4 separate regions of the Homo sapiens genome follow, and all the other regions are linked to region 1. The links are contacts of gene promoters, found by promoter capture Hi-C in blood cells and fetal thymus (Javierre and others, 2016). All regions are on one chromosome and are shown on one strand. The core of a region is centred on a gene start or on the middle of the fragment in contact, and the rest is flanking DNA. Distances in the headings are between cores, read along the strand shown. Region 1 holds the start of RCOR3 (REST corepressor 3). Region 2 overlaps NEK2 (NIMA related kinase 2). Region 3 holds the start of SLC30A1 (solute carrier family 30 member 1). Region 4 has its middle 24 kb from the start of RD3.

Evidence for each region. Contacts are between HindIII fragments. The CHiCAGO score rates a contact against its expected background, and 5 or more counts as called.
Region 2: a fragment that was not itself captured here is called in contact with the fragment with the promoter of RCOR3 in region 1 in 1 of 17 cell types (fetal thymus); the score reaches 6.5 in fetal thymus.
Region 3: a contact is called between the fragment with the promoter of SLC30A1 here and the fragment with the promoter of RCOR3 in region 1, in 2 of 17 cell types (fetal thymus and monocytes). The highest score is 6.4, in fetal thymus.
Region 4: a contact is called between a fragment that was not itself captured here and the fragment with the promoter of RCOR3 in region 1, in 1 of 17 cell types (fetal thymus). The highest score is 5.2, in fetal thymus.

What each region holds. Positions count from the first base shown.
Region 1 is chr1:211,255,910-211,262,277 of GRCh38, forward strand. RCOR3 (REST corepressor 3) reads left to right here and starts at 3,457. Exons shown (of 12, transcript NM_001136223.3): 1 at 3,457-3,817; 2 at 4,199-4,255. The coding sequence starts at 3,652. LOC105372902 (a long non-coding RNA gene) reads right to left here and starts at 3,283. Exons shown (of 2, transcript XR_922552.3): 1 at 2,827-3,283; 2 at 1,904-2,666. RefSeq lists enhancers at 2,276-2,395, 2,670-3,171, 3,674-4,173 and silencers at 2,876-3,665, 3,736-4,035. The HindIII fragment of the contact is 7,419 bases long and covers 1,989-6,368 here.
Region 2 is chr1:211,666,917-211,673,284 of GRCh38, forward strand. It overlaps NEK2 (NIMA related kinase 2), which reads right to left. Exons shown (of 8, transcript NM_002497.4): 4 at 4,286-4,368; 5 at 3,365-3,491; 6 at 2,197-2,416; 7 at 190-315. Among named protein-coding and RNA genes, the nearest start is that of NEK2, 5.5 kb to the right of the region's middle. The HindIII fragment of the contact is 3,844 bases long and covers 2,085-5,928 here.
Region 3 is chr1:211,576,827-211,583,194 of GRCh38, forward strand. It overlaps SLC30A1 (solute carrier family 30 member 1), which reads right to left and starts at 2,335. Exons shown (of 2, transcript NM_021194.3): 1 at 1,165-2,335. The coding sequence starts at 1,786. RefSeq lists silencers at 965-1,314, 1,815-2,124, 2,365-2,924 and enhancers at 1,425-1,534, 1,507-2,008, 2,009-2,508. The HindIII fragment of the contact is 24,351 bases long and covers 1-6,368 here.
Region 4 is chr1:211,512,978-211,519,345 of GRCh38, forward strand. No RefSeq gene overlaps it. Among named protein-coding and RNA genes, the nearest start is that of RD3, 24 kb to the left of the region's middle. RefSeq lists silencers at 1,249-1,338, 2,351-2,710 and an enhancer at 5,921-5,970. The HindIII fragment of the contact is 1,961 bases long and covers 3,053-5,013 here.

The DNA.
Region 1 (6,368 bases), core at 2,207-4,706:
AAAAAATTCATTTTCTTTTTTTTTTTTTGAGATGGAGTCTTACTCTGTTTCCCAGGCTGGAGTGCAGTGGCGTGATCTCGGCTCACTGTGAACTCCGCCTCCCAGGTTCAAGCGATTCTCCTGCCTCAGCCTCCCAAGTAACTGGGATTATAGGCGTGCACCACCATGCCTGGCTAATTTTATTTATTTATTTAGAGACAGAGTTTCACTCTTGTTGCCCAGGCTGGAATGCAACAGCATAATCTCAGTTCACTGCAACCTCTGCCTCTCAGGTTCAAGTGATTCTCCTGCCTCAGCCTCCTAAGTAGCTAGGATTACAGGCACCCACCACCACACCTGGATAATTTTTGTATTTTTAGTAGAGACAGGGTTTTACCATGTAGGCCAGGCTGGTCTCGAACTTCTGACCTCAGGTGATACGCCTGCCTCAGCCTCCCAAAGTGGTGGGATTACAGGCATGAGCCACCACGCCTGGCCAAAAACTCATTTTCTAATTGTTTAATGCTAGCACATAAAAATTTAATTGATTTTTATAGCTAACTGTACCCAGCAACTTGCTTAAAATCACTTAATACTAAGTGTGTAGATTATTGTAATTTTATGCATAAAATGATAGACTATCATGCTTTCTCTAGATAACAGGTTTATGTATTTCTTTCCAATCCTTATACATTTTTCCTTGCCTTTATGCATTGCTGGAATCTGTAGTACAATACTGAAGTACATCCTATCTTTTGACTTTATAACTATGAGAAAGTATTCTGTTCCAAATTTAAAATATGCACCTAGTAAAACTTTCAAAAATACAGTAAAAACACCAGCCAAAAAAATAACAGCCTTCTAGTTAAATCCAAAGGCCTTTTCTTAAGCCCTTCTCATGATTCTGCATCAGTGGACACTGTTTATTAACCCTTTTTTTTTTTTTAGTTTTTTTGAGACAGTCTCGCTGTCGCCAGGCTGGAGTGCAGTGGCATGATCTTGGCTCACTGCAATCTCCGCCTCCCGGGTTCAAGCGATTCTCCTGCCTCAGCCTTCTGAGTAGCTGGGATTACAGGAGCCTGCCACCATATCCAGCTAATTATTGTATTTTTAGTAGAGACGGGGTTTCACCATGTCGGCCAGGATGGTCTCGATCTCCTGACCTCATGATCCGCCTACCTCGGCCTCCCAAAGTGCCAGGATTACAGGCGTGGGCCACCGCGCCTGGCCTATCAAGCCATTCTAAAGCATTCTTTCCATGTCCAGCTTCTTCTTTTCCTCTTCTAACCCATTACAGTCAGGCATTTCCAAGATTTCGCCTTAGACCTTTTCTCTTTGTATATTAGTCCTTGTTAGCTATTGGGAAACATTTTAAGGTCCATTATTATTCAGAACCAGGCCAGCTTCAGGTGCTTTCCTTTTCTTCAGGAACAAAACAGAAACCTATTATACTTTCCTGTTTAAAAAATGCCATACTCTCCCCTCGCCCAGGTTCTTCTCCTAACTGTGGAATGCAGTCTTCTCTGCGTCTGCCCTTTTGTGCTGTGCTCGAATGGAATCTTCTCACTTTACTGGTTTTACTAATAAACAGAAGTTACAAAGGTCCCTAAATCTTTCCAACGTTTTGGTTCCTGATCTATATGCAGATTCCCTTCTGCAGGAAACTGCATGGAGTGCCACAACATTGGGTGTTAGAAAGCTGGCTGGCTCAGAGGCCTCAGAGTGAGGAGCATTTGACAGGGTCTAGCTTTTGTGTTACAGGACCAAAGAAGCTGAATCATGTTCATTAGAAACTGCTGCATAAAGACCAACATACCAGTGTATTAATTTGTAATGAAAAATAACGACTGTCAAGGAAAATGGCTATTCATTTCATTTGGCCAGGGCATTCTCTCCTTGTAGGAAAACTATACGGGAATTAAAATAATATTCAGAACTGCATTTATTGAGAAAAGGAACAGAATAAAAGGTCCAGTTTTATGATTCAAATATTTAATGGAATCACATTAAGCTTTAATAGAGAGATGAGACTATCTCTACTACTAGAACCAGATAGTTTTGTACACACACAGGAGACTTTTCACTTCAGAAATATTTACTTCCCAGGGTTTTCTTGGCTCAATTCCTGAGTTAGATATATTATTTCTCTCAGTAAGGTTTGCTCTGGCCAGAGACGTTCATTTCTGGTTTGATCCACTCTGGATTGACCCATAATAGAATTATTACAAGACAGTATTTTCAAGTGTTTGGAGAGTATCTGCTGAACCCCAATACCGCTCAGCATACATCTGCATACTAGAGGCTCACAGTTAAATCCTCACTTATTTCTACTTATTCGTCAGTGGGGGGGAAGAAATCAGAAAAAGAGGAAAAGAAAATCATAAACAGCCCCCAATGCCAGGCAGCCTGGCACGCAGCAGATGCCCTCAAATCTGGTGAAGGAATAAACGCAGTTTCCTACTCCTTTCGCCGAATGCAATTCAGAAAAGCATTACAGAGCACAACTCCTTCCAGGCTGGAAACGCTGCCAGAAAGCAGCTCTCGCTTCACCTCTGCCGGGGGACTCCGCCCTCTCCCCCAGCGCTCCAAGCGGAGACCGCAGGTCAGCAAGAACTGAAAACGCGTCTACTGGGCCAGGTCTCATGTTTATCTTATTTCCCCCTCACTCCACAGCACTCACTCCCCAGCTATTAAAACAGAGAAGAAAAAAAAGGAAAGAAAGATGGTAAGAATAAGACAGTAGGGTTAGGATCGGGGAGAGGGGCTTCAGCAAAAAACAGTTGCATCGCTCAGCCCCGGAAACTCATCCCGTCATCCCCAGACTCTCTCTCGGGAACTGGGCCCTACTTCAGAGATCCAGAAACAAAAATTGTAGCGTCGAGATGGTTAGGGCCGAGTCTACTTCTTTCGCCGGTTGGGCCTCAGAGCCCCAAGGCCGCCCTGCTATACTGCGCGACTGCACCGCGGGCCAGAGCGCGCCCCTAGCTCGAGGCTGCCAGCGGACACCGGGAAACTGAGCGGCCTGCGGGTCCAGACATCTGAGGAACGCCGCGCTCAGGCCCGTGCCTGCAGCCCGGTCCGCAGAGGGGGGGGGCCGCTCCCCCCGGTCGCCCAGTCGGGTCGCGCCGGTCCTTTCTCAGGGTGACCGCGTTCCTTCCGCCCAGAGAGGGCAAAGAGTCCCGCTCCCTCGTGTGCATCTCCCGCCCGCGCTCCGGAGCGCCCCCTAGGAAGAAAGCCCGAGCGGCGGCCACGCCTCGGTGGCGATTTTATTAGCGCTTGGTTGGGGTGGCCCGGCTGCCTGCGAGCGGGGTTTCCCCGCCCCTCCCCCCTTCCCCTCCCCCCAGGCGGCCGGAACCTCCCTGCGGAGCGGAGTGATACCGGCGGCGGCGTAGAGCGCGGTGCGGCCGAGGGGCGCCCGGGACTGCGCGGGGCGGGCGGCGGCGGAGGGAGGAGGGGAGAGAGGCGGGGCCGGGGCGGGTTGTTGTGAGGCGACTGCGCTACTGCCGGAGCGGGGCGGTTATGGCGGCTCCATATTAACAGCCTCCTCCTCCTCCGCCGCCGCCGCCGTCTCCTCCTCCTCCTCCTTTCCCTCCCGCCCGCGCTCTAAGCCATCTCCGCCTTCACCCTGACGCCTGCCTCTTCCCCTCACCTTTCCCCCTCCCCTGTTCTACCATGCCCGGCATGATGGAGAAAGGGCCCGAGTTACTGGGGAAGAACCGATCGGCCAACGGCAGCGCCAAGAGCCCGGCAGGCGGCGGCGGCAGCGGCGCCTCGTCCACCAACGGCGGGCTGCACTACTCAGAGCCCGAGAGCGGCTGCAGCAGCGACGACGAGCACGGTGGTAGCCTCGAACTCCTCCCCGCCAGCCCGCCTGCCCCCCTCCCTCTTCCCCTCCCCCAGCCCCCTCCCCTCGCCGCTCTCCCGCCCTCCCTCCCCTCAGAGCCTGGGCGCTGCGGTAGCCTCGAACTCCCGGTGCAGTGCAGCAGCACCCCCGCGACCCCCCGTCCCTCCGCCCTCGACCAATCCTCCGCCTTTGCCCCCCCCCGCTCCCCGCCCCCAATCCGCTGCCATCTCCCGGAGTGCCCCGAGTTGATATCTTCCCATCCACCCGCCGCTTCTTTCCTCCATCTAGCGATTTTTATTTTTTAAGTGTCTCTTCCTTTTTCTTTCTTTTCTTCTTTTTTATTTTTTATATATATTTTTTGGCATTGCTTTGCAGATGTTGGGATGAGAGTCGGAGCCGAATACCAAGCTCGGATCCCTGAATTTGATCCAGGTAGATATATTTGCTTAAGCAAAATCTCATATCCCCTTTCCTGGGCTTGGTTTGGGGTGGACGGGCTAGGAGTCCGGGCATGGGGCCGGGAGGGGATGCGGGGTTGGGCTGGGCAGGCATCCGTGGCGGGGAGGCTGTCAGGCTTGGCCGGGCTGTGACACTGGGCGTGTGGGCAGATGTGTGCACTGCAAGGTTAACATGGTTCCCTTCGGAGGCCACTTGCCCGCTGGGGGCATCGCCTTCCTAGCCCTTGAGCCTGGGGCAGGGTCGGGGTGAGCAGAGGGAGACGGCCCTTGGCGGAGTCCAGGGTCCGAGGCCGCGGGCTGGAGGAGCAGGCGTGCGGACTGTATGGACGAACCGTGCAAATGTCAATTGCCACCTCGCTCGCCCCGGCGCCGAGGGCCGCGCTCTGTCGGGCGGGTGGCAGAGGCCAGGGCGGCTGTCACCGGCCGGGGAAGCCAAGGGCGAGCCCTGCCGACCTGTGCGCAGCCGGGATTGTCTCTTTTCTTTCTTTTTGGCTAGGTGGTGTAGCTTTGGTCGCGGCAGCTCTGCGGAGTGCAGGAGCCGCGGAGAGAAAGGGGTGGGGGAAGGGGGTGGGGAGACGCCAGCGGCAGGCACACCTCGCTCGCCAGCCAGCTCTGGGAAGTTAGACCACAGGACAGTGGCTGCAGCTGCCAAGGAGACATTTTCTCCCCGACCAGCCAGGTTCCAGCGTCCTCTGCCAACCCAGCTTGCGGGCTCCCTGTCTACTTTTCTCCAAACAGGCTCCCCGGCGGTCACGAGATTTCAGCCTGTGCAGGGATTGGGCGAGAGTTCCGCATATGGAGGCGCCCTTGCTGGAGCCTCTCGGAGTGGAGCGCGTTTCCTTCTCCCCACCCTGCCTGAGACCCTTCTCAGTTAAGGCTTTGGACAGACTTTGAAAGGGACCCACCTTTTTTTTTCCTCCTTACAGTTTGTCAATTTTTGCCCAGTGCCCATAATATTGCGTTTGTGTCAGACATTGGATTTCTATGTTAGATATTAAAGAGCTTACTTGTATTTTCTTGGAGAGAAACAATGTTTAATTATTAGGATACAGAGGCGTGTTTTTTTGTTCCTCCTCTCCCCATTAAGACAATGCAAAATGATATTTACCAACCATTTGGATTTCAGATAGCAGCTCTTCCTCCTGTCCCAAGTGAGGAGGATGAAAAGTAATGAGTCGGGACAGTCTCATTTTTAATAGGTGAAAACAGTGATGCAAGAGTGTTCACTAGATTTGGGTTGCCTTCTAAATGACTGGCTGGGAATACATTTTATTCAAAGACTATCAGTGTGTATACTGATGGGCTTCAAATAATTTTAAATGTTTTATGAAACTAATTTTCTTTATTGATGTTGCTAGTAGGTGAATGGCACTTTCACACCACTCTGCTCCCTTTGGGTTTACTTGACATTTGGAAAGAGCACATTTTGGCTTTAAGAGACTGAATTCACGCCAGGCGCGGTGGCTCACGCCTGTAATCCCAGCACTTTGGGAGGCTGAGGCGGGTGGATCACGAGGTCGGGAGATCAAGACCATCCTGGCTAACACGGTGAAACCCCGTCTCTACTAAAAATACAAAAAATTAGCCGATCGTGGTGGCACGCACCTGTAAACCCAGCTACTCGGGAGGCTGAGGCAGGAGAATCATTGCTTGAACCCGGGAGGCGGAGGTTGCAGTGAGCCGAGATCACGCCATTGCACTCCAGCCTGGGCAACAGAGTGAGACTCCATCTCAAAAAAAAAAAAAAAAAACTGAATTCAATTCCTAACTCCCAACTCTTCTTTTTGTGGTCTGAGCAAGCCACAGGCTTTCCCTGAGCCTCAGTATTCCTAGCTATAAAAACTTTTTTTTTTTTTTTTTTTTTTGAGGTGAAGTCTTACTCTGTCGCCCAGGCTGGAGTGCAGTGGCGTAATCTCGGCTCACTGCAACCTCTGCCTCCCGGGTTCAAGCGATTGTCCTGCCTCAGCCTCCTGAGTAGCTGGGACTACAGGCACACGCCACCATGCCTGGCTAATTTTTGTATTTTTAGTAGAGATGGGGTTTCACTGTGTTGGCCAGGCTGCTCTCGAACTCCTGACCTCGTGATC
Region 2 (6,368 bases), core at 2,757-5,256, 410 kb after region 1:
GAACCCAGGAAATAAATCATTGCTATAACAGAATTTTGTTTCCATTGAAATGCATATATTCAATGAAATCCATCTTAAAATTTGAGATTTGTAAATGAAAAGGGCTACCTAAGCCACTTTGGGAGCAACACTGGTGCACATTTCTTCATTTGTAGCACCAGCTTCTGTTGACCAAGTTGATTCTCATACCTGGATTACTTGCCAGAGACAGGAACTTCCGTTCCTTTAGCAAGCTGTAGTTCTTCAACAGATTTTCTGCTCTAGCCAGTTTGTCCTCTGCTAGTCTCTCACGAACACAAAGCTCCTGTTCTTTCTCTTTAAAAAGAGAATGGACAAAGAAAAAAAAATTAACAACTGACCTTGACTAAAAAACAATTTACATTTGGCAATCTTATCACTACTAGCATGCCTGATACTGATAAGCAATGTTTGGGGAAAGGATTCTCACTATGCCTCAGTCAACCTGATTATGTTAGTTTTTAATTGAGTGTTTTAGTAGGCTGTATGTTATCTTAGATTTTCTTGAAAGGACTTGTTTAAACAAATACAAAGTTAGCTTCAACCTTTGGTCATCTTTTGTGGGAGTAACTCATTTGGGAAAACAAAAAACTAAAGCTATCTCTGCTCTTCACTGAAGATAAGCAACAGCTAATTTTCAGGGCATGATCTGGCCTCACAGTACAAAAATCTCCTTCTTCTGGTTGAATGACCACACCCAAACAAAAGAAAAAAAACACAATTCAGTTAGGTGGTAGTTCATAGGATTAGTATTAATAACAAATGTTACTATTTATTCATGGCCCCAAATTCAGAAAGTATTCAGATTTCAGTTGCTATATGAAATTATGGCTGGTCACAGTGGCTCACGCCTGTAATCCCAACACTTTGGGAGGCCGAGGCAGGTGGATCACCTGATGTCAGGAGTTCAAGACCAGCCAGGTCAACATGGCAAAACCCCATCTCTACTAAAAAATCAAAAATTAGCCAGGCATGGTGGCAGGCGCCTGTAATCCCAGCTACTCAGGAGGCTGAGGCAGGAGAATTGCTTGAACCCGGGAGGTAGAGGTTGCAATGAACCAAGATGGTGCCACTGCACTTCAGCCTGGGCAACAAGAGTGAAATTCCATCTCAAAAAAAAAAAAGAAAAGAAATTATGAAACACTGGGGAAAGTTATAAGAAAAAGCTTTCTTATTTTTTACAGAGGTTTCCAAGTAAGTATAGGTTGTACCTATACAGTAAGCATATCTCACAGGACTATACAATATTTCATTATTTAAAGCCTGGATTGGGCATAAAGCTGCAGAAGTAAAATCAGGTGAGTCATGAGGGTGACAGGTCACAAATACGACCCCATCTCTCGTCTCCTGATGTTAAAATGAAGAACCTCACTCTGTAGCTACCTTGCATAACCCTAAATGCTTGCGAGTAGCTCTCATCTTGGTGGAGTAGACACACTTTCAATATCAAAACTAAATTAGCATCTAATCAGTTAATACTCATAAGTCAATGTTAATACCCACCAGAGTATTATTTATAGACTTAAAATATCTTGTATCTAGATTCTCTATTGAACTGCCTGAACAGACCAGGTGTGGTAGGTCACACCTATAATCCCAGCACTTTGGGAGGTAAGATGGGAGGATCACTTGAGCTCAGGAGTTCAAGACCAGCCTGGGTAATATAGTGAGACCCCATCTCATTTTCAAAAATAAAAAGTTAAAAAAAAAGAAAAGAATTGCCTGAACATATCTCATCTACATACTGTAGGGTTTTAGACCTGGAATTCTGTTGGAGTGGCCATTTCAAAAGACAAAAGTCATGGTTTTTTATTATGGAAAGCAGCAATTTTAAGACCTTCCTTTACAGTGGGAAAACATTAGGGTATTCACAGTAGAGACGAAAAAGAAAAAAGTAACTCTAGAGTAAAATACAAGGCTATCGTATTAGGGCCATCACAGTTAAGGCCCAATAATATATAACTAGCAACTGATCTCAGAGAAAGATGTCCAACATGAAGGTGCCAGCAAGCCTGATTATTAAAAAGTCTAAAATACATATTTTGGTTTCTCAAGTATTTTTCAAAAGCTTCTAATAAGATCTGTATGTATAAAATATTCTGCTCAAAGAGATATTCAGACACATCAAAATAACCCACTTGGTAGTTCTCCTTTGCTTTGACCCCCATTCAGACTTACGCTCCAATCTTTCTTCTCTTGCTTTGAGAGCTCGCTCTCGCTCCTGTAACTGAATTTCCTTCAGTTTCAGCTCACTCAATACAGGGCTGGAATCCTGCGATTTTTCTGGCTCTCCTAATTGTCGCCCTCTTCTCTCAAGATTTCTTCTTTGCTCGTCTGCAACCAAATCTGCTATTAAAGGGTTCTCAAGAATTTCTTCAACAGAAGGTCGATGGTAATCCTGGGGAAAAAATACTCAGTATTATAGTCAGATTGCATAACAGAATAGTCCTCCTAAGACAGCAGTTAAAATAAAAGGACAAAAATGTGTTTCCAAGACAAAAGAAAGGACTCCTTTATGGCTAGGTCTTAAAAACTTGGAAAAATAAGTTCACTGGTGGTTTTAACTCATGAGGTTCTGGGTCCACAAGGTAATGCAGATGTTAACTTACCTTTTTTCCCTTTTCCCCTTTTCACCTTTCTAAGAAGGTTCAATCCCTGAAGATTGGCACATCTTGTGCTGGGGCTTGGTAGCATTGCTAGGGTCTGTTTTAGGGGAAGTACTGCCCTTGCATTTCTAAACTACATTTAGCAAGATACTCTCTCACTGACTCTCAATCCTGTCACTTCATCTGTATCCTTCTCTGTGATCCTACGGCATTTTCCTTCTTCTCTTATGTCAGCCTGGTCCCCAGAACATCTCCTTCCCCATTCTATAGCCAGAGTTTTTCCACATAATCTCTTTATTGATTTTCCCTCTGTTTTTAGCTGTCCTCCGTCCGCCCTCCATCACCCCTCCCCTTCTTCTGGTCTTTAATCTCTCAATTAGAGCTAGAGGCAGAGTAATAAACTCTTATTTCTGGCCCCTTCCCTCACTACCTGCCACTGTGAGGTAGGCAAGGACAAGGGGAACGAGAATTTGAATTCTTTTTGCAATCTTTCCTTGCTACCGACCATCTGTTAGCATGACAGAGTGGGAGGAGAAATAAAGAAAGCGCAGAAGGTGGGCCAGCAAGGATGTGCAATTTGCCAAATTTACATATGTTTTCACTTGTGTTAACACAGTAAATTTAGCTAAGAAAGTATATTTAACGTTTCTTCAGTCTCCATTGATCTACAAGAGAGAATGTATGCTCTGACACTTAACTGACAGCTAGAAACAGACAATATATCATCTTATCATCTTTACCTTTAAGTTTAACATCCTCGTAATAATTTCATTCAATTCATCAGAGTAACGGTATGGAATTCGCCTGAATTTGCCTTCTCTGATTTTCCCAGCGAGTTCTTTCTGGCTAAAAGCTGTAAATGGAGGCCTAGGGTTAAAAAAGAAGAAGAAGACGACGAAGACATTTTCAAATTGTAAAAATGAAAATATACAATAGGAACTAAATCAAAAGCACAGCTTAAGCTCCAGTTTGTATTTAAGTTTCTACTTCTGGGATTTTCTTCTTATAAGTAAGTTTCCCAACCTTGGCACTATTGACATTTGAGGTCATATAATTCTTTGTTGTGGGGGGCTGTCCTGTGCATTATAGGTATTTTGTAGCCTCCCTGCCCTCTACCCTCTAGATGCCAGAAGCACTCCCCAGCTGTGATAACTAAAAATTTATCCAAACATCATCAAATGCCCCATAAGAGGCAAATTTGCTTCCCTTATCCCTAGTTGAGAATCACTGCTCTACAGAATAGTTTCAAAGGGAAAGAAAATGAAAAGAAGAACAAAGGAAAAGAATTGGAGCTCTTCCCTGCTCTACAGATCCCCAGACCTCTACCCGAGTCTTGTTTCATTTCTTCCACATCCTTACAGTAGCTTTACCTTACCTGCCTGACCTATGTGCTCTCCCTTGAGCTAAGTGTCAATCTAATAAGAAAGCACCTAACCAGCCAAGACCCTTGAACAGTCAAGACCCAGCCTCATGGCTTATAGTTTTAATTTGTGAATAGTTTCTTTTAGCCTGTTCATCTATCTACCTTAATTTTACCCAGGGTACAATTCTTTCAGACTTGAATATACTTTCGTTAGCACAGAGGCTCAAAAAACTGAACCCAGTGAAATGTGACAAACAGTACAAACCTTAGACTAGGAATCTGTCTTCATCATACTTACATTAATGCACATAACTCATACAGCAAGCAGCCCAATGACCAGATATCTGATTTCTCATTGTAGGACATGCGATTCATTTGTTCCTATACAGGGAAAAAGGGTAAGAAAGTGGAAGGTGTTAAGAGTTTATTTTGTTTTGAAACTTAAAAAACACATTAAATTACTCCTGAGATAAAAACAGAACCTCAAAGTTTTTAGCTTATACTTTATCTTGAAATTTATAATGGAAAAAAGGCAATGATCTTGTTCCAATACACTCCATCATACATAATTCATTCACTCATTTTCCATTCACAAATGAAAGTGCTTAGTATAGACTAGGCACTGACAATACAGAGGTGAATATGAGAGACTTCTACTCTCAAGGCAAATTAAGAAACACCATTTTAAAAGAACTAGAGGAAATTTAAGAATAGTCAAAATATGTATCTAGTCCACATTTAAATGGATATAGACATAAATAGCTAATTGAATTATCCATTTATATTTTGTCTTAGTCCACTCCATAAATCACAGTAGTAACTAATATTATCCTTACCTATTTTATTGTTTGCCTTTCTTCCACATCTACAGTAACAACAGCCTACCAGAGCTCCTATTCTCAACAGAGGGAATAGAAGCAATCTCTAGTGGCTGGTTAGTGTTTTAAAGTCCAACTGGTGAGTCTGATGCCACTTTTTGACAATCAGTGCCTTAGGAAAGCTGAACCACTCTAATTACAAGGGCAGGAGGGAAAAGGAACAAAAGAATAGGTTTCAAATTTCCCAAGAACCACTTCTGGATAATTGTCCTTTATGTTAAAAACATTCTATTTGGAATTTGATACAGTGAGAAAATGGTACTGTTCTGGCTATTTTTAGTCAAAACCAAAATCATTAATTTACAAAGTTTTATACTATAGTAAGATCTGTTAACATAATTTATAAATATTTGGAAAATCCTAGAAAGGTGAACTACTAAAATACTAACAAATATTTCTTCATCTTTATCTGTTCAGATGTTATATACTAACACATTAGTGCTATCACAATTGACTTAAACTTTTTAAAAGCCATCAGACAATATCTAATAACAGCCATAAACATTTACCCCAGCAATTTCATTTTATGAGCTACACTCCAAGGAAATAACCAAAAAGGAAGAAAGAATAATTCATACAAAGATATGCAGAGCAGTACTTCTAAGAATGGTGAAACATGTTGGAAACAAAATATCCAGCAATAGAGGTAATTGGTGAGTGGACTCAGCAAGATATTTCAGGGATAGGCAACAAAAAAATAAAATGTACAAAAAGTTAACATTGTAAAAACATGCTATCTGAAGTGAGCAAACTTCCTGAGCTCTGATTCTGCATACACAAGAATCATTTACAGAGCCTCTTAAATGCAAAGTCTAAAATAAAAAGTAAAATATTAAAAAAAAAAAAAAACAGAGTTCAAGAACCCACCCAGAGATCGAAATTCACTCGATGGATTTGGGTTTGGGTTTGGGACCCAGAACTCTGCATTTTAAACAAACACTCCAAGTGAGTCTGATGCAGATAACTAGGACCTACACATTGGGAAACAACTCTTGAGGGCAAGGACAAAATCCATTTCATTTTTGTAATCCTTGAGTTTAATGCATCATAGTCATTCCATAAAAGCTTGAACTGAATATGCTTTAATTTGCATGAATGCTCAAAAAATTGAACCCAGTGAGAGATGACAAACGGCGCAAACCTTAGACTAGGAATCTGTCTTCATCATACTTACATTAATGCACATAACTCATGCAGCAAACAAAAACTGATATAGACTTTATTGGTCTGGTGGTCCATGTGGAAAAATATAACAGTATTTTCAATTCTTGGCTACTAGATATTACTAAACAAACAGAAAACTCAATTTCCCTGCTTCAGAATGCTTAACATTAAAAGATGTTTTGGCTGGGCATGGTGGCTCACGCCTGTAATCCCAACACTTTGGGAGACTGAGGTGAGCAGATCGCTTGAGGTCAGGAGTTCGAGACCAGCCTGGTCAACATGATGAAACCCTGTCTCTACTAAACATACAAAAATTAGCCAGGCATAGTGACATGCACC
Region 3 (6,368 bases), core at 1,085-3,584, 320 kb after region 1:
AAAATCAATAATCACAGAGATTATTAGAAAAATTGAAACTAAATGACTACCTGCCCTACTAACTTTTAAATCAAAAGTATTGATCTTTTCAAAAAGTATTGATCAAAAGTATTCAAAAAGATAAAAAGTATTGATCTTTTGAAATTACACACCAGAGAAACTTAATTTTCTTTGGAATAACACCTTGCCGAGTGGAGTGAGAGGAAAACCAATTACTTATTAAACCTTTCCAATGTACAACTTGAATTTCACTAACTTCATATTCTGCACTCGAAAAGGAAAATTATGTAGCATAATTTATAATGATACAAGGTAAATAAACGTAAGTGAAGGAAATAAGACCAAATTGTTAAGCACCATTGAGCTTGGGTAGTAGGACACTGGTTGAGTCATTTCCATCTCCTTTCTTTCAACATTTATTTTCAAATTTCCTTCAAGAGCACTTAATGTTAAATATAAAAAGCATCCACTAAAAATATAAGATGAATAAATTACCATCACTTTTAGTTCAGTACGATTATGAAAAGTCCTGGGAAAATGTTAAACATGCCCAGACAGGTCCTAAATCTATGATTTCCAGGATTAGGGATCAATTAGCTGAAGCATACACTGCTGTTCATAAAAGAAACCTTTAACCAGGGTTTACACGCTCTGAATGCATATTATGAAACGGAGTTCAATGGGCATAAGAACTACTTTGGCAGAGCAAGGTTTCCAGCACCCAACTACTGGGGACGAATTGGGGATTCTCTCCGTTTCCCAAGAGGGCCAAGGAATTGAATTGGGAAGCATTTCTGACGCTGTTATAACCATAACCAGACAAGTCTCCAGCAAAGTTGCTGCAGCCTGTAAAGACAGCCAAGTGCGGGTGTGGACTGCAGCGGGATGATGATCACCTCCTGACCCTTTTTCTTAGGGTCTGACCCACAGCCCCCACCTACAAATATGCCAGACGCGTCGCCGGCTCCTTGCACCCGACTGAGGGGGTTCTGATTTCCTGGAGCAGCAGCGGGGCGTGTGCAGGACGGGGAGGGAGCAGGCAGGGGCGGCGCGGCGCAGGCCCGCTCGGGCAGCAGGGGGCGTGCGGGCCACCCCGCCGAAGGCCAGGCGAGGCTCTGGGCACCCCAAACCCAACCACCTGCGGCAGCGACTTTCCCGGCTCACCTGCGGGGTCCAATTTCAGCCCGTTGGAGTTGCTGGTATTGGCCACCAGGGTGTTGGTCTCCTCCTGGTCGGGACCCTGCTCGCCCGGGGCCACGTTGATGTCGCTGCTCCCGGGGCGGGTGCTCTTAACGCGAGGCCCCTTGGGGAGGCCGTGGCCGTGGCCGTGACCCCCGTGCGAGTGGCCGTGGCCGGAGTCCTGGCTGAAGCCGCTGTGATGGTGGAAGAGGCAGAGCCCCAGCACGTTGACCAGCAGCCCGGCCACGCCGACCCCAAGGACCACCAGCGGCTGCTGCATCTCGTGCGGCTCGATGAAGCGCTCGATGGCCTCCAGCAGGATGGCGAAACAGAGGCCAGTCAGGAAGATGGCGTTCACCAGAGCCCCCATTACCTCGGCTCGGATCCAGCCGAACGTGTTCTTCTGGGTGGCGTGGGTCCGCCGGGCGAAGCGCTCGGCCACCAGCGCCACCACCAGCGCCAGCACGTCCGACAGCATGTGGAAGGAGTCGGAGAGCATCGCCAGCGACGAGGTCACCCGGCTCACCACCACCTCCAGCACCATGAACATGAAGGTCAGCGCCAGCATGCACAGCAGCCGGCCCCGGTTCCGACCCCAACACCCCATGGCTGCGGCTGCGGGGCCCGCCGAGCCCGGCCCGGAGACTGGTGCAGCGGCGGCGTTGGCGGGACGCGGAGGGTCGGCGACCGCGACACGGAGGAGCGCCCGAGTCGGGCCGTTCGGGAAACCGCTGAGGGGCCCCCGCGGCCGCACGGGGACAAGCCCGGGTCAAGCCGCCGAGCCCCGCGCCTGTGGGCGTTCTCCGCCAGCCGGCGGCGCCGCGCCGCGCAGCTCCTCAGGCGTCCGTCCTCAGAGCCGGCGCCGAGGCCCGGCTCAGCCTCAGCAGCCCCCACACCCAGGCGGCGGCGGTGGCGGGGAGCTGGGCTCCCGGAGCCGGGGTACCAAGAGCCGCAGCCGGAGCAGGAGCAGGAGGGCGGCGGGCGAGGGCGGCAGGAGAGGGCGACGGGCAGCTTCGCGCCGAGAAAGCTCCGAGCATCTGAGGGCTCTGCTTGCTGGTCTCCTCTGCGGCGGCTGGACTGAGGAGCGGATGGCTGAGGAGCTAGAGAGGCGGCGGCCACGGCAGCTGCACTCGGCCCGGTCTCGGGCGCCTTCTTCGCCCCCCCGCCTTTGCAGACGGTTTACAAAAAAACTTTGCTTTGCACTCGGAACCCCCGTTTTCACACGGACCCGAGCGTGACAAGGCCTTGCCGCCCCGCCCACCAGGCCCGGCACGCTTCCCCATTGGTCAGGACCCCCTCACGACAGCCTCGGCGTCCCGCCCAGCCACGCTCACTATTGGATGGAGCCTCGGAGGGGCGGGAAGGGGGCGGGGTCGCGGCTCCAACAGATAGGGGCGGGGCCTTTTCCTCCCGGAGCCGGGCGTGGGCCGGGGGGCCGTGGCCGGGTGCAGCGGCGGGCGAATTGGGGGCGCGGGCCGCGTGCAGCGGGAGGGGGAGGGGCTGGCCGGGTCCCCTCGGGTGTGGCGGAGTCCTGGCCTGCGGACCATCGCAACTCCCAGCACACCTGCGGGGGCCGGGCTGCAAAGTCTGCAAACAGACTTTGATCCTCCGAGCCCAGTCCACGTGGGGGCGGGCCGCGCGGCGGCTGTGTGACAGCTCGGCGGCGGGGGAGGGGCCGGAGGGGAGCCCCTGAGCGCGGGGCCCTCGAGTACTCGGTCCTGTCGGAGGAGGCCGACAGACGCATAAACAAGTGCGACTGTAACTTGGGACTCTGCTGGACGCCGAGCTGAGGAGTTAGTCCTCCCGAAGGTCTGCTAGGGGCGTGGACCGAATCTTTGTACATGTTTTGGGAAAGCCAGTTTCTCCTATCACCATCAACCCCTGGAGACCTTGTGTGAACTCAGGTGTCTGTCACTGATTATCTAAGGACAGTTCAGGGTACAGACTTCAGGCAGGAGAAACCTGGGCTCTGCTCCTTGCCTTGTCAATAGCCAGCTGTGTGGCTTTGAGCAAGTCACCTAATCTCTCTAGACCTGTTTCCCCATCTATAAAGGACTGGACAAATGCAACTCTGAAGATCCCCGTCTGACTCCAAAATTCTAAGGCTCTATGATTTAACATTTATTTATAGACTACACACGGTGGAATCTTGTGCTGGTTGCTATGGGGAGGTGGAGGGGCAGTAAGAATACAAAGGAACGAGTTTCTGTCCAGGTGGAGGTAAAATATAAACACGACATTTTAAAATTACGATGGAATACTCTTGATAAATTGTGCTATTTTAGACTGAATACATAAGCACTGTGTTGTGGGTGGAGATGAGTTGATCTGGAAAGGAACAGCTTGCCCATCTAAGGTGGGGTGGTGGCTGGAATCAGAGTGGCTTAAGCTGGACCTGAAAGGCCTCACCACAGCCCCTGCGCAGCAGAAGGACCTCCCCACCCACTGCCCTAGATTACTACTGGACAAATGCAGTGCCAGCTATTGCCTGGAGATGTGTATACAAGGCTTGTTTGGAGCTGTTATTTTGCATTGTTTTGGTATTCTTGTAATTCCTATGAAATTTTTTTCACTTGTATGTAGTGTGTTTCTAGTCTCCCCATCCAGACTGGAGAGCTGGATCCTCACCTTCTGTTTCTGTTTTGCTGGAATATAAAGAATGGAGGAAAATTTTCAAGACATTATTAAGGAAAAAATGATAGAATTTGATGATTAATTGGGTATTGGGAAGGAGGAAGCTAGGTAGGAGAACAAAGATAGTTATAATGTTTCTAACCTGACAAGGAAAATACTGCCTTAAACAGGTGAGGAAGTTGGGAAGGGAGGCCAAGAAGCTGATTTTTAGGAGAAAATATGAACTCCATTTTTAATGTGCTTAATTTGAAGTGAAGTCTGGGTTTGGGCAGTGCTAAAGGGTGGATTAATGGGTTTAGGACTTCCATAACTTCCTCTCCTTTGATATGGATGAGTGACAGTTTTCTGATCATCTGTAAACACAGCTTCAAACATCCTATCAACTAGCCCCTCATATACAGAAATTCGGAAGCCACTTATGGGTCAAGATATCCTCATGGAAATGGCCTAGAGGCAGTTTGAAGACCATTTTGCTTTCTACTAAGGGCTGCTGTGCCTCGCTTTATTTAAAAAATACATTCCTCCAAATGCGAAGATTTGATACCCAAAGAAGAACCAATAAGAAGATGTAAAAGTCAGTGATGCTTGCAAACACAATAGCAATCCTTCAATAACTAAACAGACTAAATTGGGAGATTTTTAGACCCATATAAAAACAGGTTCAACTCATAGCCGCTTCTGAAAACCTACTTTGTGCCTGCATTTCAGCCATTTCCCAGACAATGTGCTTTATTCCCTCCTGGTGGGTGGTTGGGGGCGGGGCAGAGGGGGCAGGGAGTACATTTTCCAGGTTCTAGAGAAGTTATAATCATGTTCTCTGGAGAGAGTAATATTTACCACACAGCAGAACACTTCAGTCAGACTTTGTTTCCCTCTAACATTGTGTAGGCAAAAGACTTTGGTACCTCAACTCGAGCTTTTTCCCTTTTCATCTGGTTGTCCTAGTAGAGTGTCAACACAGGCAGGAATAGATTAAAATGAAGGGACACTATACTGTTATTCACCAACACCCCTGGAGGCTGTGGCCCTGGGTTGAGTAAGACGGCTTGGCTTTCTCTTCTTAATGTTTGAGAAATCTCCTGATAACTTGCTTAGTATCCAAACTGACTAAACCCAGCATACTTTAAAGATGAGAGAATAATGCTCTTTTTGGAAAAGAGACTGCCAATTTGAATGAAAGTCAAGGGCTTCAGACAAACTGCAATCTCAAAGCCCTCTGGACCTCTCCTTGCTTTTAATGAAAGTTTAAAATGATCTTGTAAGATTCTCGTAAAAACTGCTAAACACAAACGTACTTCTGAATTTTGGTAATCAAAAATCATGAGTGTATAAAGCTGTACCTTGCTTGGAAAGATAAAATAACAAAACCCTGTGAAAACCACATTATATTTGACTTTGGCTGACAGTAAATCACTTCTAATGTTCAATCTTAAAACTGATGGGGAAATCTCTCAAAACATAAATGAATAATTATTACAAATATGAAGTGAAATCTCTACCAACAACATGAAGGCCAAGGTTTGATTTCTCAGCTGCTCTCAAAGGAACAGGCAGTGGAACAAAGAATAAACAACTGACAATGCAGCAATAAAGCCCAGAAATAGCACTAAAGTCTCAGAGGTGTGAGGGAAACCATATGAAAGAAATGGTCAGAGCAGGAAACCCACGTAGCAGCAAAGGGGAAACAGGAACAGTGCAGAGAGTGAAACTGTACAGTAAGAGGCTGGGAACAGTCACTGAATTTTTATATTTGTTAATTTAAAGAATAGGCCGGGCACAGTGGCTCACACCTGTAATCCCAGCACTTTGGGAGGCCTAGACTTGTGGATCACCTGAGGTCAGGAGTTCAAGACCAGCCTGGCCAACATGGTGAAACCCCATTTCTACTAAAAATACAAAAATTAGCCAGGCATGGTGGTGCATGCCTGTAAAACCAGCTACTCGGGAGGCTGAGGCAGGAGAATCGCTTGAACCAGGGAGGCAGAGGTTGCAGTGAGCTGAGATAGCACCATTGCACTCCAGCCTGGGCGACAAGAGCAAAACTCCATCTCAAAAAAAAAAAAAAAAAAAAAAGAATAGCAGATGAGGGCTAGCAGCAAAAGGAACTTATTTTTCTTGGAGGCTGGAAACTGGGTCTAAGTTCTCCAGTTATGCCTGGAAATTCAATCTAGAAATAAAGGCACTGCTATCTATACAGAAACACTCATTAAAAGCATCTGTGAATTTCTTGGGTGCAGTGCTATATAATGTTAATACCAGAAATTGTTGAAGGCTCAGGTAGTCAGTGTTAAGACTTTAGACTGAATGCCCATTCTTTCTTTAGCCCTTCTACTCTTGGGGCTGGAGATGGTAATTAAAGCACAATGTACAGAAAATTTGAAAAAAAGAATTTAATTTAAAAGTATGTTTTTATGACTCTCTCCATTACTCATCCCTAAACATGCCGGCCAGTAGAGCATTTTGAAAGGATCACACACCTAATGAGTTTTAGGATGACAGTTCAGGGACTGGCCCTTAAAAGTTACTGTGTGATGTTGGAGAAGTTACTAAACCTC
Region 4 (6,368 bases), core at 2,783-5,282, 260 kb after region 1:
CATCATGCGCCTTTCGGGGACATGATGGGGAAAGAGGGCATACATTTTGTCCCTCTGGATCCCAGAATCATCTTTGCCTGATTGAGGGAGGGGACACTGAGGAAAGAGGAGGCTGTTGGACACAGTAAATATATGAAGCGCCTACTTTATACCAGACACTCTGTTGTGTGATACGTAATGTAACCCTCCCAAGGCTCTACTTCAGAAAGGTTAAGTGATTCGCTCATGATCACAGAGCTAGAAAATGGCAAAACCAGGACCTTGAATCCCAACCCAGTGCTCTTTCCACAGTTCCATGCTGCTTCTCACCATGCAGGGTTTGGGAAACAAGCTTTAGGGGAGGCAGCACTGTAGAGCCATTGAGAGCATGAATGTACGCTAGGCTGCCCAAGTTCAAATCCAGCCCTATTGCTTGCTGGCCACATGACTTTAGGCAAATTATCTAATCTCTTTGTGTTTTATCAGTTGCCTTATCAGCATCCTTTGTAGTGTCAACCTCATAGGGCTGTGTAAGGATTAAATAAAATAACACACTTAAAGCCTTCCACTCAAGGTCTAGAACATGGCAAATACTAGATGAAAGTTAAGCTGTTTCTGTGCTGCAAGCTGGTGCATTGAACATGCCTCTCCCTGGGTGGCTTAAAGGTGATTCTAGGTGGGGAGAGAAATAGGAGCATTGGAGAGAAGACAAGAGAGAGGATGGAACCTTCAGAACCAGCTGCCTTCAACTCGCTTTACAGCTTGTCACTCCAAATAAAAGCAACAGTCACAACATATCCTTACTATGTAGGGTTTTACCCTTTGCAAATGCATTCTCAGACACTCATTTTAGCCTCGTGACAGCCCTGTCTGGTGGGTACTACTATCCCCATTTTGCAATTGAGAAAACTGAAGCTCTGAGATCCCAGGTCCTGCCCCAGTTGGGCACTGGGGTGGGACTCCAGGTGGGTAACAGATTGAGTTGCCCTGACCACCTAGCAGAAGGGGTAGACGTCAGAGGCAGTGAGACCTGCAGGATGACTTTTACCAGTGGTTCTCAAATTTGAGCATGTTTCAGAATCCCCTGGAGGGCCTGTGAAAAACACGAATTGCTGGGCCCCAACCCCAGAGTTTCTGACTCAGAGTCTGGGGTTGGGAGTTGGTCTTGCTGAGAGCCCTCTAACCATTAGCAGCGGCGACATCTTGTGGTGAGGGACAGAATGTACCTTGGGCTCCCTCAGCCCTGATTACCCGCGCGTCCAGGATGATGCCGGACCAGGCTGCACCGCCCAGAGGCCCGACGGCGTCGCTGGGGCAGACCCAGAGACTCTCACACGCCTTGTCCTTGCCCGGAGGGTGCAGGCGCCTGCATGCCTCATTTACCCTAGAGAGAACAGGAAAACCTAAACTTGTTGTGCAGAACCTGCAGCTTCGTGTTAGAATACTATTTCCTCCCCCCACCTCCCTTTTTGTTAGAGACAATATCTCTGTTGTCCAGGCTGGAGTACAGTGGTGCTCTGCTCGCTGTAGCCTCCAACTCCTGGGCTCAAGTGATCCTCTCGCCTTGGCCTCCCAGAGCGCTGGAATTATAAGCATGGCTCATCGCACCCGGCCCAGAATATTTTTTATTCTCATTTTTGTAAATAAGTTTCTTCCCTGGTCTTTCCACCGGAGCCTGTGAATCGCAGCCTCGTGGCACCACCACAGTTGGCTTCTCAAGTCGGGAGGCTGACTCCTTGAACCGGGCGCCTCACTTCACGATTGCTTTCAGCTCAAAGGAGCATTTTACAACAGGAACCATTATCCCTGGTAGCTTGACGTCCAGCCCTGACACGATTTTCTGATTGACTAAAATTAGGGTAATGAGTTATGAGGGCAGAGAATGGAGCTGCGATCCCTGTAGGCGGGGGCAGTACCGCCTCTTATTTCCTCTGCCCAGGTGGTTAAGTTGGTAGATTGGGGTGTAGGTGTCTCTGGAGTTGGGCAGCAATGGGTGGGGTAGTAGAAGGACACCTGGTCTGTGTCCGGGGCTGGGTTCGAATCCCCACTCTGCCTGTGAGCTGAGAGCCCATGGGCACATCACCTGAGCTTTCTGCGTTTATCTGTAAAATGGGCAAGAGGCAATCAGTCATTTATATGAAAGCGGCCTGCAGTGCCTGGCACCGAGGCGGGCACGGATGGGCATTTGGTAAGGCAGGGAGGAGGAGCGCGGCGCCTGGAGGCTCCCGGGGCAGGGGAGAAGGGCATCGAGAACGGGGGCGGCGTGCGGGGTGGGAAGAGGAGAGAGTTCACGGCTTGCTCCTTCCCCTGCCCCCAGCCGCCTCAGCCCAGGCCTGAGTCTCTCCCCGTCTGGGCCTCTGCTTCCTGCAGGCACAGCCAGGGCCAAGACGCGCCCCTGGGCCTCCCTCCCCTTCGACGTCTCCACCCGGTATGGAACATTAATCATTAACCGTCCTGTGGCCAGGCCCAGCGGGGCGCCCGCTTCAGCTCTCCCGGTGCCACCTAGCTGAGTCACCGCGGTCTGGGCAGCTCCCCGCAGCCAGGACCTCCCTCCGGGCCGAGGGTCGCGGGGTTCGAGCCGCGGCGAGGTCTTGGGCTTCCCAGGGGCCGCTCCTCGGTGCGCCGCCGCCCACAATCAGCAGGGGGCGCCCGTCCCGACCGCGGGAAGCCGGCGGGGCCACCGAGCGGCGGGCTGGCCTGGCGGGGCGGTGTCAGGGCGGCAAGGCGGCGCCTCCCCAAAGCCGTAAACCTTCCCGCCCGGCTGACTACGCCGGCCCAGCCACGCACGCGCACCCCGCATGCCCCGTGGCCTGTGAGGTTATTCAAGAAGCCAAGGTCGGGAGTGGGGAAGGTCAGCCTCTAGCCCGGCACTGTCTGGAAAAGATCGAACCAATTAATTGACTGTAAGAAGCATGTAACCAATACAATGGAAGGCATTGCTACCCTTCCTCCACCAGGTTCAGGACCTCATGCCCAAGGAACGGCGCGCAGGAATTGGTAGTAGGTTGTGGAGGGTCAGGGGCTCTCCCAGCATCCTGAGGCTGTCTCCTGTGAAGGCCACTCCAGAGGTTAAAGCTTTCCCGGGTGCCAGGAGAGCTCTCCTAATTCAGCCGTAGGGATCACCAGTAAAGATGCTCAAAAATCCCAGCATCTCCCACTTGCAACCCACAGGGGATTCTATTCTACTCTCTCTAATTCCCCATGGCCACATAGTTGAGGTCACTTAACAATTTTTTTTAAAGACGGAGTTTCGCTCTTGTTGCCCAGGCTGGAGTGCAACGGCGCTATCTCGGCTCACCGCAGCCTCCGCCTCCCGGGTTCCAGCGATTCTCCTGCCTCAGCCTCCCCAGTGGCTGGGATTACAGGCATGCACCACCACGCCTGGCTAATTTCGTATTTTTTGTATAGATGGGGTTTCTCCATGTTGGTCAGGCTGGTCTTGAACTCCCGACCTCAGGTGATCCGCCCTCCTCAGCCTCCCAAAATGCTGGGATTACAGGCATGAGCCACCGTGACCGGCCGGTCACTTAACATTTAACCTAACACCCACCTGCCAGCAGGTCAAAGGTTATTGCCTATGACTGGCCAGGTTTCACTTCGGCTGCCGTGGTGCTCCTGATGTGACTGCACTGGGCAGACGGACCTGAAGTACTGTCCCTGTATTAAGTGGAGTGGCCCCGGGAATGAAGCCATAACAGCAGCCAGAGACAGCAGCCCAGATTGGCTGTCTTGACAGCCCAGAGCCAGTGTGGTCAAATCTGCCCCCATGATGCCTGTGTCCTTGCTATTCCCGCCCCAGTCATCCCCCTCTGAACCCCAAGGAGTAGCTGTGAGGGTGCAGGTGGGTGAAAGAGACAGGCAGTGGACATTAGTGCAAGAACTAGGGTCATGGGTTCTGAGTCCAGCTGGTCACTGCATACCTACGTGATGACACATAATTTCTCTGAGTCTCAGTTTCCCCAGCTGTAAACAGCACTAATAGGAACTGTGTGGACTACCTCAAAGGGTTGGTAAAGGGTTCAAATTAGATAACGAATGTTCATCACTAACCCATTCATTCGTTAAATGTTTATTACAAACTTGCCTGAAAGATGATGATCCGTCTTCTCAGTGGCAGCAGAAAAATCATGAAAGACCCTGCCCATGACGCCACCTGTGGTGCACACAGGCTTAGCACCAGCCTTTCTTAAACTGTGTGAGCAGGAGGGCTGCTGCAGAGGAGGAGGGATGCAAGGTGAAGGGGGAGGAGAGGCAGGAACTGCATGGTGGAGGAAGCAGGAAGAAGGGCGAGGCCTCACCCATATGGCCTCAGCAGGCCCTGTGATCTCCCTGTTGAGCCCAGGTTCTCCCAGAAGCTCCCTGGGAATTACTGAGCTGGGTGTGGCTTCCTAGCCCCACACCTGCCCAGCCAGCTCAGGGCCCCTCCGTGCTGTCTTCTCAGGATCCTGCTTCAACCTGCTGCCACTTCCCCATGCCTAGCTCACTGTCACTTTCTCCCTTACCTGCCCTCTCAGCCTCAAACTGATAATTTGGAAAAAGAGGCGCCTGGAAAAAACCACTTCCAGGGTACAGCAGGAACCAGCCTCACTCTTCTTTCTCTCTTTTAAAAATTATTACGATTTTTACTGAGATGGGTTCCAAGTATCACTCTCCACCACCTCATCACCTTCTGGGACCTGGATGGACTCCAGATCACTATGTTGCCTAGGCTGGTCTCAAACTCCTGAGCTCAAGTAATCCTCCGGCCTCGGCCTCCCAAAGTGTTGGGATTACAGGCGTGAGCCACTGTTGCCTGGTCTGGCCTCGCTTTTAATTTTGGCTTCCTGGAGGCTTTTGCTGAGGTAGAGATGCAGGCCACCCTTGCCTGACAATGCCTTCCAGGCAATTGAGTGGCTGAGCCAGTGGGAGAAGGTGGGCTTCTCTCACTCCCAGGTGTGGTGGTAGTGAACCAGCCCAGGTGGTCAACATGAACTGGGAACATGGAAGACAAAGGTAAAAGAGCTGGTAAGGGAAGCAAAGCAGGTTTGGGAATAAAGCTTAAAATCTGGTACAGAGTGGGTTACCATGCCGTCCCTCTGGGGCTGACACATCAGGCGGAAGCCCCCAAATACAGGGTTAGTCTTGTCATGTTACAGTTCTCCCACTGGGCTGAGAACTTCCCAAAGACACAAGCCATGTTTCTTCCTCATCTTATAACTTGTGTAAAAGGCTGGATCCCTTGGAGTACAATCTTCTCACTGGGCACCTGCTGGCCATAGGCCAGCCCGCAGAGAGCAGGGCAAGGGTACGCATGTGCCCCCGAGTGGCTCTCTTAGCCAGGCTGGGCCAAGGTTCACCCATTTCCAAGCTCAGCCTCTGGGCATACCATGTTTGGAGCCCAAGGGCAGTTTTCCATGCAACGAGGCACGTATCACTCTCTACCACCTTGTCACCTTCTGGGACCTGCGTGGACTCCAAATCCCTCTCTCTAGATGTAAAATTGAACCTGGTGGAGGCTCTGCAGCTGATGTGAAACCACCACTTCCTCTCTCCCCAGATGGTTCCAGCCAGAGGCCAGCCAGTCAGCCCTGTTAGGGTGAGCACCTACTGTGTGCAGAGCCAAGTGCTCAGTGTATGATACTCACCTTTTGTTTTGCCTGCCTATTATCCCTTCCCCTTATTCTGGCAAAAGCTTTCCAATTCTTAACCTTCCACTTGTAGTCAGTAAGATTCCCACAGGGCCCATTGCCAGAAGGAAGCCCCTGGGCCAGGCCTGGCCACAAGATATTTTACCCCAGCCTCTGACACTGGTCACAGAGATCATCAGCACCAGGGCTGTAGCTGGAACTAGTGGGAGGAGAAACTCTCTCTACTGGTGGATTACATGAGCCTGGGACTGCTGATGGGCATCTTGCATCACCAGGGGAGAGCCACGCCAAGGAACAGAGAAAGACCAATTCCTGAGGACATCGCTTAGGCTCCTGGAGCCACCGTGGCTGGAATGGCCAAGCTATGACTGCCTACATTTCCTAAGTTACTTTGAATTGGGTTTTCTGTCACTTGAAACTAATAATGGTGACCAAAATGAGGAGAGGAGGGTGCTCAGAGAAATAAAGAGAGGAAGTGAAATGATTTCTACTTTCAGAAAGGTCCCAGGCTGAGGGGAAATATGGTTTTCATCCTCGGGTGTCTGAACACATGATCTTCCATTTTTTTAACTGTGTGTGTGTGTGAGAGAGAGAGAGATTGTGATATATATATATATATATACACATACATATGTGTATATATACATATACACATTGAGAAAAATTCTTATACTTTTTATTTCTTTGTCAAAAAATACATATCCAGAATGGAAAACTTATTTAAAAAAGAAAAGAAAGAAAGAAAAAAGGAAGGAAGGTAAC